Linked DNA regions of Homo sapiens: region 1 is linked to region 2. The links are contacts of gene promoters, found by promoter capture Hi-C in blood cells and fetal thymus (Javierre and others, 2016). All regions are on one chromosome and are shown on one strand. Each heading gives the region's core, a stretch centred on a gene start or on the middle of the fragment in contact. The rest is flanking DNA. Distances are from core to core; before and after follow the strand shown. Region 1 has its middle 73 kb from the start of RUFY1. Region 2 holds the start of ZNF354B (zinc finger protein 354B).

The links. Contacts are between HindIII fragments. The CHiCAGO score rates a contact against its expected background, and 5 or more counts as called.
Region 1: a contact is called between a fragment that was not itself captured here and the fragment with the promoter of ZNF354B in region 2, in 1 of 17 cell types (M0 macrophages). The highest score is 5.8, in M0 macrophages.

What each region holds. Positions count from the first base shown.
Region 1 is chr5:179,474,600-179,480,154 of GRCh38, forward strand. No RefSeq gene overlaps it. Among named protein-coding and RNA genes, the nearest start is that of RUFY1, 73 kb to the right of the region's middle. The HindIII fragment of the contact is 1,510 bases long and covers 1,315-2,824 here.
Region 2 is chr5:178,857,395-178,862,546 of GRCh38, forward strand. ZNF354B (zinc finger protein 354B) reads left to right here and starts at 2,559. Exons shown (of 5, transcript NM_058230.3): 1 at 2,559-2,733; 2 at 3,603-3,686. The coding sequence starts at 3,654. RefSeq lists enhancers at 2,409-3,141, 2,426-2,625 and silencers at 2,766-2,965, 3,046-3,125. The HindIII fragment of the contact is 7,869 bases long and covers 1-5,152 here.

The DNA of each region.
Region 1 (5,555 bases), core at 820-3,319, 620 kb after region 2:
CCAGGCTGGAGTGCAGTGGCACCATCTCAGCTCACTGCAAGCTCCGCTTCCCGGGTTCACGCCATTCTCCTGCCTCACCCTCCTGAGTAGCTAGGAATACAGGTGCCCGCCACCATGCCTGGCTAATTTTTTGTATTTTTAGTTGAGACGGGGTTTCACTGTGTTAGCGAGGATGGTCTCGATCTCCTGACCTCGTGATCCACCCGCCTCGGCCTCCCAAAGTGCTGGGATTACAGGCATGAGCCATCGCGCCCGGCCAATACATTTGTATTTTTTATAAGCAATGCCAAACTGCTCTCCATAAGGTTTGTACAATTTTGTATTCTCCACAACCAAACCTGTTTCCTCACAGCCACACCAACGATGTATTTTACAATTTTGGATTTTTGCCAAATTGAATTGCGCAAAATGATGTCTAAGGGCAATTTAATTTGCATTTCTCTTATTACAACTGGGGTTGAGCATCTCTTGATGTTTAAGGATCATTTGCATTTCATTCTGTATGAACTATTTCTTTCTTTTGCCCATTTTTTCTTTGTAGTCCTTGGTCTCTTTCTTAGGAAAGTAAAAGCTATCTTTATCTATTACTGCATGACAAACTACCTCAAAACCTAATGGCTTAAAGCGACATAATTTATTATTCCTCAGGATTCTGCGGGTCGAGTGGGCACAGCTGGGTGGCTCTTGCTCTACTTGCTACCAGCTGGGCTTACTCACTCGGCTACATTTGGCCGGCAGCTTGGCTGAGCTGGATGGTCCACCAAGCCTTCACTCACTTGTCGAGTGCCTTTGTGCTCGTCTGCATAGCCACGTCACCTCGGCTGGGGCCTCCTCACAGCGTGGTGGTCTCAGGGAAGTCAGCCTTCTTACATAGCAGCTGGCTTTCAAGAGGGAGGAAACAGAAGCTGCCAGTCCTCTTAAGGCCTGGATTCCAACGTCAGGAAATGTCACTTCTGCATTCCTTTGGTCATAGAAAGTCACAAGGTCAGCCCAGATTTAAGGAATAGGAAATAGACCCCACCTCTGGGTGGGAGAAGTGGTGTGGGCTGCAGGGAAGGAACGCACTGGTGGCCGTCGGGGCCAAAGACCGGGGATAGACGGGGAGAGCGGGGGCAGCCGCTGGCATCACCGTGAGCCTGTCTTAGCCCTTGGGGGCATCGTGAGGTTGGATTCTTTAAAGACAGGGCTCCGAGGGTTGGGAATCTTGAGGGCTATAACAATACTAAAAACTGAGGACACGCATACATTTCGTTGTGATTTTCGGTGGAGGAACTTAGTGAAGGTGGTGTTACGGGGTCGGGGAGAAAATGTAAAAGCTTGGCCGTGGGTGGGTTGGGGCCGACCCTTTCTCCCACCGGTTTATGGCTGGAGAAGGTGGGAGATGTCAACTCCATTTAGGGGACTGGAGGGACCTGGACAGTTTTGAAGGGGAATTTGAGAGTTGAATTTGAGTGTGCGCTTGTAAAGGACTCAACCCTGCCAGTCGCGGTTCAAGATCAGGGTTGGCTGTAGGTGGGAGGCCGTGCAGTTCCTGGGAAAGCTAACTCACCGCGGTGTCTTTTCTGTCTCACGCCGAGAAGAGCCCTGTTTGTGCTCCGCTACTGCCTGGAGTCTCCAGAGGACGCAAACGGGCGAGGGGATGTGTGGGGAGAAGTACTTGCTTTTTCTTGCTTTCTTCTTTACAGAATTTGTTCTTTTCCCACAAGGCCACTCTAGCCACACCAGGAGCTTTCTCAGAAGCAGTCACAATCTTTTTCCTTTTTTTGTTTTCAGACAAGGTCTCACAAATGACAAACAACAAGACAAATGACAAACAGGCAAAAAAAAAAAATCTTTTTTCTTCCAAGATAAAACCCAAATTGATTCAGCAGACATTTTGATTAGGAAATCCTATAAATCAGGACCACTCTTAATTTCAGACACTCCGTTATGAAGTGTACATCTACCTCTAGGGGATGAATAAGCCATTGAATCTTTTAAAAACTGGCTTTTTAAAAACTGTTGCCGAGGCTGGAGTGCAGTGGCACAATCTTGGCTCACTGCAGCCTTAAATTCCTGGGCTCAAGTGATCCTCCTGATTTAGTCTCCCTAGTAGCTGGGAGCACAGGTGCATGCCACCACCATGCTGGCTAATTTTTTTTTTTTTTTGAGACGGAGTCTCGCTCTGTTGCCCAGGCTGGAGTGCAGTGGCATGGTCTCGGCTCACTGTAACCTCTGCCACCCAGGTTCAAGCGATTCTCCTTCCTCAGCCTCCCAAGTAGCTGGGATTACAGGCACCTGCCACAGCGCCTGGCTAATTTTTGTATTTTTAGTAGAGACGGGGTTTCACCATCTTGGCGAGGCTGGTCTTGAACTTCTGACCTCGTGATCCACCCCCTGCTCGGCTACCCAAAGTGCCAGGATTACAGGCATGAGCCACCGCGCCCCGCCTAATTTTTGTATTTTTGTGTAGAGATGGGATCTCATTATGTTGCTCAGGCTGATCTCAAACTCCCGCCCTCAAGCAATCTTCCTGCCTTGGCCTCTCAAAATGCTGGGATTATAGACGTGAGCCACTGGGCCCACCTAAACAATCTCTTGAGCCTCTCTCCCATCCTCCCAGCCCAACTTTCTTATTCCATCCTTGCTGGTGTCTGTAGGAATGGACAAGAGACCCTGGATGTTTTTCTGCTCTGTGCTGGCCTCTGTGAAGCTGTGGGCCTCAGGCTCTGCACATCCTCCCCGTGCGGTTTGTCTCCTTCTCCCATGCAGCTGTTCTTTGTGACCGAAGCTGGTTTTAAAATGTGGCTTTCCCCGAGGAGAAATCACAGGCTTTGCCCTTTGAAGCTTAATGGTGTCTTACGAAGGTCCTACCCCCAAATGCGAAGGTAGCAAAGCCAGTTTTTAAGAGATTCAATGGCCTGTTCATCCTCCAGATGTAGATGTACGCTTCATAACGGAGTGTCTGAAATTAAAAGTGGTCCTGATTTATAGGATTTCCTAATTAAAATGTCTGCTGAATCAATTTGGGTCTTGTTCTGGGAAAGAAAAGAATTTTTTTGCCTGTTTGTCATTTGTCTTTTGACTTTGCTTATGTTTGTGTCTGTGTGTGCATGTGCACGTAGGGTTTTGTTGAACATTTTATTTGGAAACAATTATAGATTCACAGAAGTTGCAAGGATAGTATCGAGATGTCCCCATTTACACTTCACACAGTTTCTCCCAGTGACAATATCTTACATAACTATGGTACAACATCAAAACCGGGAAAATTGACATTGGTGCAATGTGCGTCATCTTTTTTTTTTTTCTTTTTTGAGACAGAGTCTCACTCTCTCGCCCAGGCTGGAGTGCAGTGGCGCGATCTCAGCTCACTGCAACCTCTGCCTCCCAGGTTCAACCCATTCTCATGCCTCAGCCTCCCGAGTAGCTGGGACTATACGTAGCCCGCCACCACACCTGGCTAGTTTTTGTATTTTTAGTAGAGAAAGGGTTTCACCTTGTTGGCCAGGCTGATCTCTAACTCCTGACCTCAGGTGATCTGCCCATCTCAGCCTCCCATAATGCTGGGATTACAGGCGTGAGCCACCAAGCCCGACCCAATGTGTGTCATCTTATCATATGTGTAGTTTCATGTAACTATTACAATCAAAATACAAAACTGTCCCATTGCCACAAAAATCACCCTTGGGAGCCACCCCATGATAGTCACCTACACAGCCATGTCCCCACCATCCCTAACCTCTGACAGCCACTCGTCTGTTTTCCATCTCTGTAGGGGGTGAATAGGCCTCCAAAAATGTATGTCCAGCTCCTAACCCCTGGAACTGTGAGTGTGACCTTATTTGGAAAGGGGTCCTTACAACTGTAATGAAGAGTCTCGAGTTGAGATCATCCTGGAGTCAAAGTGGGCCCTGAATCCAATGACAGCTGTAAGAAAAGGAAGAAGGACATTGGAGACAAAAGGCAAAGAGGAGAAGGCGATGTGGAGACGGAGACACAGGTGGCAGTGATGCGTCCAAAAGCCAAAGAAGGTCAAGGATTGCGGCAGCCACCAGAAGCCAGGAGAGAGGCATGAATCCAATTCTGTCTCAGAGCCTTCAGAAAAAACACTTCACTTAAACTGGTAAAAAGCAAAACCAAAACCAAACAAACAAAAACATTGACAAAGGGGAATCCACACGCACAGGGCATTAGAGCATTCAACAAATATGAGTGCCTACCGTATGCCAGGTGCTGGACAGAGCATTTGGCATACTTTAGTGAACAGGAAGGTGAAGGCCCTGCCCTTCAGCAGTGACTTGCTAATGGGTTGTTGTTTTTTCCGGGCTATTTTCTTTCTGCTATTCCGATTGGATAATATATATCATTGTACCTCCAAGTTCATGGATTTCTTTCCTCCATCCTCTCCATTCTGCTGTTAAACCCATCCATTGAGTTTTTATATTGTTATTCTATATTTTATCCTTACTTTTTTTTTTTTTTTTTTTTTTTTTTGAGATGGAGTCTCACTCTTTTTCGCCCAGGCTGGAGTTCAGTGGCGCAATCTTGGCTCACTGCAACCTCTGCTTCCTGGGTTCAAGTGATTCTCCTGCCTCAGCCTCCCAAGGAGCTGGGATTACAGGTGCACCCCACCATGCCCGGCTAATTTTTTTGTATTTTCAGTAGAGACGGGGTTTCACCGTGATAGCCAGGATGGTCCCAAACTCCCTCAGGTGATCCGCCCAGCTCGGCCTCCCAAAGTGGTGGGATTACAGGCATAAGCCACTGTGCCTGGCCTCATTTATTTCTTAATATCATCTATTTCTTTGCCTAGACTTTCTCCTTTTTCATTGGTTTCAAGCGCATTCATAATGTGCACATTGCACCATTTTATGACAGCTGCTTTAAAATTCTTATCAGATAATTCTAACATCTGTGTCATCTCAGTGTTCGTGTCTGCTGTCTCTTCTCATTCATGCTGAGACTCTGTCCCTACAAAAATTAAAAAATAATTAGCCGGGCATAGTGGCATGTGCCTGTGGTCCAAGCTCCTCAGGAGGCTGAGGCAGGAGGATCACCTGAGTGCAGGAGTTCAAAGCTGCCATGAGCCGTGATCACACCACGGCACTCCAGCCCAAGTTACAGAGTGAGACTGTCTCCGAAATAAATAAACAAATAAATAAAAATACACACATTTAAAATATTTGACTCAACTCGTGAATGAATGAAAAAATCAGTAAGCTACCACAACTAGTTTAAAGGAGAATTCAAAGAACAGAGACACCTATGGATCATGAAGTGGATGTATAAATATATATCAAATTGGCTCTTTTTTGGTAGGGTTTGCATTAGCTTCCTCTTGCTGCTATAACAAATTATCACAAATGTAAGTGGCTTAAAACAGCAAATGTATTGTCTTGCAGTTCTGGAGATGGGAAGTCCAAAGTGGGTGGACAGAGCAGAGTTCCTTCGGGAGGCCCCATGAGAGCCTGTTTTCTGGCCGGGCGCAGTGGCTTACGCCTGTAATCCCAGCACTTTGGGAGGCCGAGGCAGGCAGATCACGAGGTCAGGAGATTGAGACCATCCTGGCTAAC
Region 2 (5,152 bases), core at 1,309-3,808:
TATAGGCATGTGCCACCACGCCTGGATAATTTTGTATTTTTAGTAGAGATGGGGTTTCACTATGTTGGTCAGCCTGGTCTGACCTCAGGTCATCCACCCACTTGGGCCTCCCAAAGTGCTGGGATTACAGGCATGAGCCACTGTGCCCAGCTGAGAAAGGATTTGTTTATTTATTTATTTGAGACAGAGTCTCGCTCTGTTGCCCAGGCTGGAATGCAGTGGTACAATCTCAGCTCACTGAAACCTCTGCCCTCCTGGGTTCAAGAGAGTCTCCTGCCTCAGTCTCCTGAGTAGCTGGGATTACAGGCGTGCCCCACCACGCCTGGCTAGTTTTTGTATTTTTAGTAGAGACGGGGTTTCACCATGTTGGCCAGGCTGGTCTCAAACCCCTGGCCTCAAGTGATGCACTTGCCTCAGCTTCTCAAAGTGCTGGGATTACAGGTGTGAGCCACCACACCCGACTGGAGGAAGGATTTTTATGGAAGACAGCAACACATTCGGCTTTGTGCTGAGAAGCAGAGTGTAGAAGAAAAACAGTAGATACTGGAAAAGGAGTCAAAAGCCATATGGTTTAGGGCCCACAACAAGGATTCTGGCTTTCACTCTAATTGCAAAGAGAAGACAATAAAACATCTCATTTTTGTTAAAAAATCTTTTTTACACCAGGCATAGTGGCTCACGCCTGTAATCCCAGCACTTTGGGAGGCCGAGGCGGGAGGATCACTTGAGCCTAGGCGTTTGAGACCAGCCTGGGCAACATAGTGAGACCCCGTCTCTCAAAAACAAAAACAAACAACAACAACAACAACAAAAAAAAACAGAAGCAGCAGCTTGTGGAAGTGTAGAGTAGTGTAGAGAGAGATAACAGGGCCTTGCACTGGGCAAGCAACCATGGAAGGACACCTGCAGTTCATGGCAACAGGGTGGGCGTGGCTCTACAAGTAAGGGACAGTTGTGCCATATGGAATTACCTATATGGGAAGATTGGTAATTAACACACAGGGAAATCACCATGCTACTTTCTTCTATGATTTTGACTATTTTAGATTCTACGTGTAAATGAAATAATGCAGTATTTGTATTTCTGTGCCTTCTTTATTTCACTTAACATAATGTCCTCCGGGTTCATCCATATTGTCACATATGTCAGGATTTCTTTATTTTTTTAAGGCAGAATAATATTCCTTTGTGTATATAAACACATTGTGGCCGGGCTCGGTGGCTCACGCCTGTAATCCGAGCACTTTGGGAGGCCGAGGAGGGTGGATCACGAGGTCAGAAGTTCAAGACCAGCCTGGTGAAGATGGTGAAACCCCATCTCTATTAAAACTACAAAAATTAGCTGGGCGTGGTCGCGGGTGCCTGTAATCCCTGCTACTTGGGAGACTGAGGCAGAGAACTGCTTGAACCTGGAAGGCGGAGGTGGCAGTGAGCCAAGATTGCGCCATTGCACTCCAGCCTGGGTGACAGAGCAAGACACCGTCCCAAACAAACAAACAAACAAAACATTTCCTTTATCTATTCATCCATCAACAGATAGTTGTTTCCATATCTTGGCCATGGTGAATAATGTTGCAGCTAACATGGGAGTGCAGGTATCTCACGGAGTTTCACTTCCTCTGGATCTATAGCCAGAAATGGGATTGGTGGATCCTAATGTAGCTCTAGTTATAATTTTTTGAGGAACCTCTATACCGTTTTCTGTAATGATTGTACCAATTTACATCCTTTTGATAGTGGCCATCCTAATGGAGGTGCAGTGATTTCTCATTGAGTTTGGGTTTATATTTCTCTTATACCTAGAGATGTTTACCATCTTTTTATATGCTTGTTGCTCATTGCTCATTTGTATATCTTCATTGGAGAATTGCCTATTCAAGTCCTTTGTCCATTTTAAAATCAGGTTATTTGGTTTTGTTATTGTTGTTGAGTTGTAAAAGTTCCATATAAATCCAGGATACATTGCAAATCAGATATATGATATGTAAGCATTTTCGTCTATTCTGTAGATTGCCTTTGTTTCCTTTGATTAGCCAAAGTTTTTAAGTTTGATGTAGTCCCATTTGTCTATTTTTGCTGTTATCTGTGCTTCTGATGTCATATTCAAGAAATCATTGCCATCTCCAACATCCTGAAGTTTTTTCCCTTTTTACTTTAGTAATTTATAAAATAATTTGGTCTCACATTTAGGTTTTTAATCAATTTTGAGTTAATTTTTATGTATGGTGTACGGTCAGGGTACAGGCTCATCTTTTGCACGTGGAAATCCAGCTTTGTCAACATCTTTTGCAGGGGATTTTCCTTTCCCAATTGTGTAGTAGTTGTTTTCGTGCCGCCCACGCCATCCTGAAATTCACACACAGAGTTGCAAGTTACTGCCCTCCGGGAACCTCCCCTTCTCTTCCGAAGAACCAGGAACCCGGGGCTCTACAGCTCACCCGGGCCCTCTCATAGGTCTGGGCGCCTAACAGCTCAGCTGCGACCTCGCCTCAAACGCGTGGAACTACACTTCCCAGAAAGCCAGCGTCCTCCCGTGGACTCCATTTCCTAGAGGCCTTAGCGGCCGCCTTGCTCCTCTAGGTCCCAGGCGCTCTGCGGAGCTTTCGCTGCCCGGTGAGCGGCGCCGGGCTTGAGGTCGCCCAGACGTCGGAGGAGCCGGGTCACGAGGCTGGAGCTTCCTGCTTGCAGAGTGCGGCGGGGAGGCGCGGCCCGGGAACGCGGGATCCTGGGGAGGTGAGCGGCATGGCTGGCTGTGCCGGGAGGAGGCGGCGCCTGGCGCCAGGGCGACCTGAGGCCGCGGGGCTCCGAGGGCCTCTGTGGGCGCGGGGGGGCACCCCCGCGTCTGTCACCGGCCCCCGCGCCAGGACTTGGACTCTCGCCCCTCACGGGCCGCTCCGGTGCCGCTGCCGACGCCCCTGCCTCTGGCTCGCGCCGCCCGCCGTGAACGCGGGGCCAGGCGTTTCCTCCCGGGCCCACCCTGCGCGCGCCGTGTGGGCCTCGCGGACTCGGGGCGCCGGGACCCCGAGCGCAGGGCAGAGGCAGCCGGGCCCGGTTTCTGAGTCAGTCCCCAGGACGGCCACTCCTCCTGCCTCGGGACACCCAGCGCTTTCCTCTTCAAAGCCGTTTTCCGTGGAGTCGGGAGACGATTCGTTGGCGGGAGAGAGAGGAACCGGCTGGGAAAGGCTTGAGGCGGAGGGAAGTCGTCCCGGGGCCGTCGTGGTGGGAGTCCCGGCCCGCCTCGCAGCGGCGTGAACGGGGCAGGTGCCCCGGCGCTGCCTCAGTTTCCTGAGCGGTGCAGTGGGTGCTGGCAGTGCCAGCTGGCGCCGAGGAACTCAGCGGCGTGGGGCGAGCCCTGGCCCTGGTGGGCTCAGCGGGTCGCTGCTGCCACTGCGGGTCCAGCGTCCCCTCCGTAAGCCCCAAGCCTGTGGGGCCTGGGCCTGGCCGGGCGGCCCAGCGCTGCTCTGGTCCGCGGGCTCCTGGCTCCTCCCGAATCCCTGTGAGGGCGCGCGGGGTCCTTCTCAGCGGGAGTCGGGGTTTTAGAGCTGCGGATTCCAGGGCTGGAAAGCAGAAGGGGTTCTTCCTGGCTCCCTTTTTCTTCTCAGATCTGCCTTCTGGAGACTGCGCCGTCCTCCCGGGAGAGCCAGAAAGAGGACATGGCTGCTGGGCAGCGGGAAGCGAGGCCCCAGGTGAGCTCATTGCCCTCCCAGATCCCAGTGGATGGATTTTCCCCACTAACTGGAGTTCTTCACCCGGGACCATCTCCAGCCAGGATGGAGCCCAAGTCCTTTTCTCTTGGAGGAGCTGGTCCGCCCTCATGACTGGTGGATTCTGTAGGGAGGACCACCCACCCTCCCCACCCGTGTCTAGTGGTTTTTAATTAACAGTTTGTTCACGAATCTTCATCCATTGTGTGACTAGTTTGACAAGTAAGATACCACAAGTCTGTCTGTCACTAAGAGCAAACGTACACACGTGGGAAAAATCCCTGCCTCCTCCACTCACCCATGTCTCCGTTCCTGTCCTTCGCAGGAATACTTTCTCTTTTCACCCCTGAGAATCCTCATAACACCACCCCTTCCCCAGGCTTCTCCAACGCATCGTTGTTAGTTTTTTGTCCCTCTTAACTTTGTGAATCATATTCTTTGCTTGTATCACTGTCTTGAAATCTATTGTAGACCGTTTTCATTTTTGTGTAGTGGGAATGAGGAGGCCACCCTTTCTAGTTGAGACGAGAGTGAACAGAGTTGGAGAGGTCGCTTGACTCGCAGGACACAGAAGACCCCTCAGCTAGCGGCAGGAAGGGTTTCATGGGATAGCAATAGTGCAGAGGCAGCGTAGGTGGTAGTTAGGAAGTAGGGCTGTTAAGCCAGATGGCAGCGTTTTAACCCATCTCCTCTGTTGCTGTTTGTGGGCCTTGGGCTTCACCTCTCTGTGCCTCAGTTTTCTCACCTGTAAAATGGGAATAACAGCCGTGCCCACCTCCCAGCGTAGATGAAGGGATCACATGAGTTAGTGTGTGGAAAGTGTTCGGATCAGGGCTGGGCACTGAGTAGTTACTGCTCAGCATATGGTGGTTGTGTTTGCTGAGTGACATTATTGTCTTAATATATTAATGTTAATGTTGGTAGATAGAAACTGCTGTACAATGTGTTTAGGACCCAGACGATGTTATCCTTTATTCATTTTTTTATCTAACAATACTAATGTCCACCGAGTGTCTAGCATACCAGGGAATGGGCTGAGGGCTTTACATTTGTTCTCTCACTCGCACAGTAGCACAACAATTACAATTCTTGTTTTACATGTGAGGAAACTGAGGCTCAGAAAAGTTAAGTAACCTGAGTACAGTCCAAGTATGCCTGGCTCTGAGTTCCGTCGGACCACCCAGTCGTCCCTGTGGTGCGTCTTTCAGAGTATGGGCAGATGCAGCCACGCGATACCAGAGTGCTTCTGCAGCGTGGCATTATCTTTTTTTTTTTTTTTTTTTTTTGAGAGGCAGTCTTGCTCTGTCACCCAGGCTGGAGTGCAGTGGCGCGATCTCGGCTCACTGCAACCTCCGCCTCCCTGGTTCAAGCAATTCCCCTGCCTCAGCCTCCTGAGTAGCTAGGACTACAGGCATGTGCCACCACGCCCGGCTAATTTTTTTTTGTAT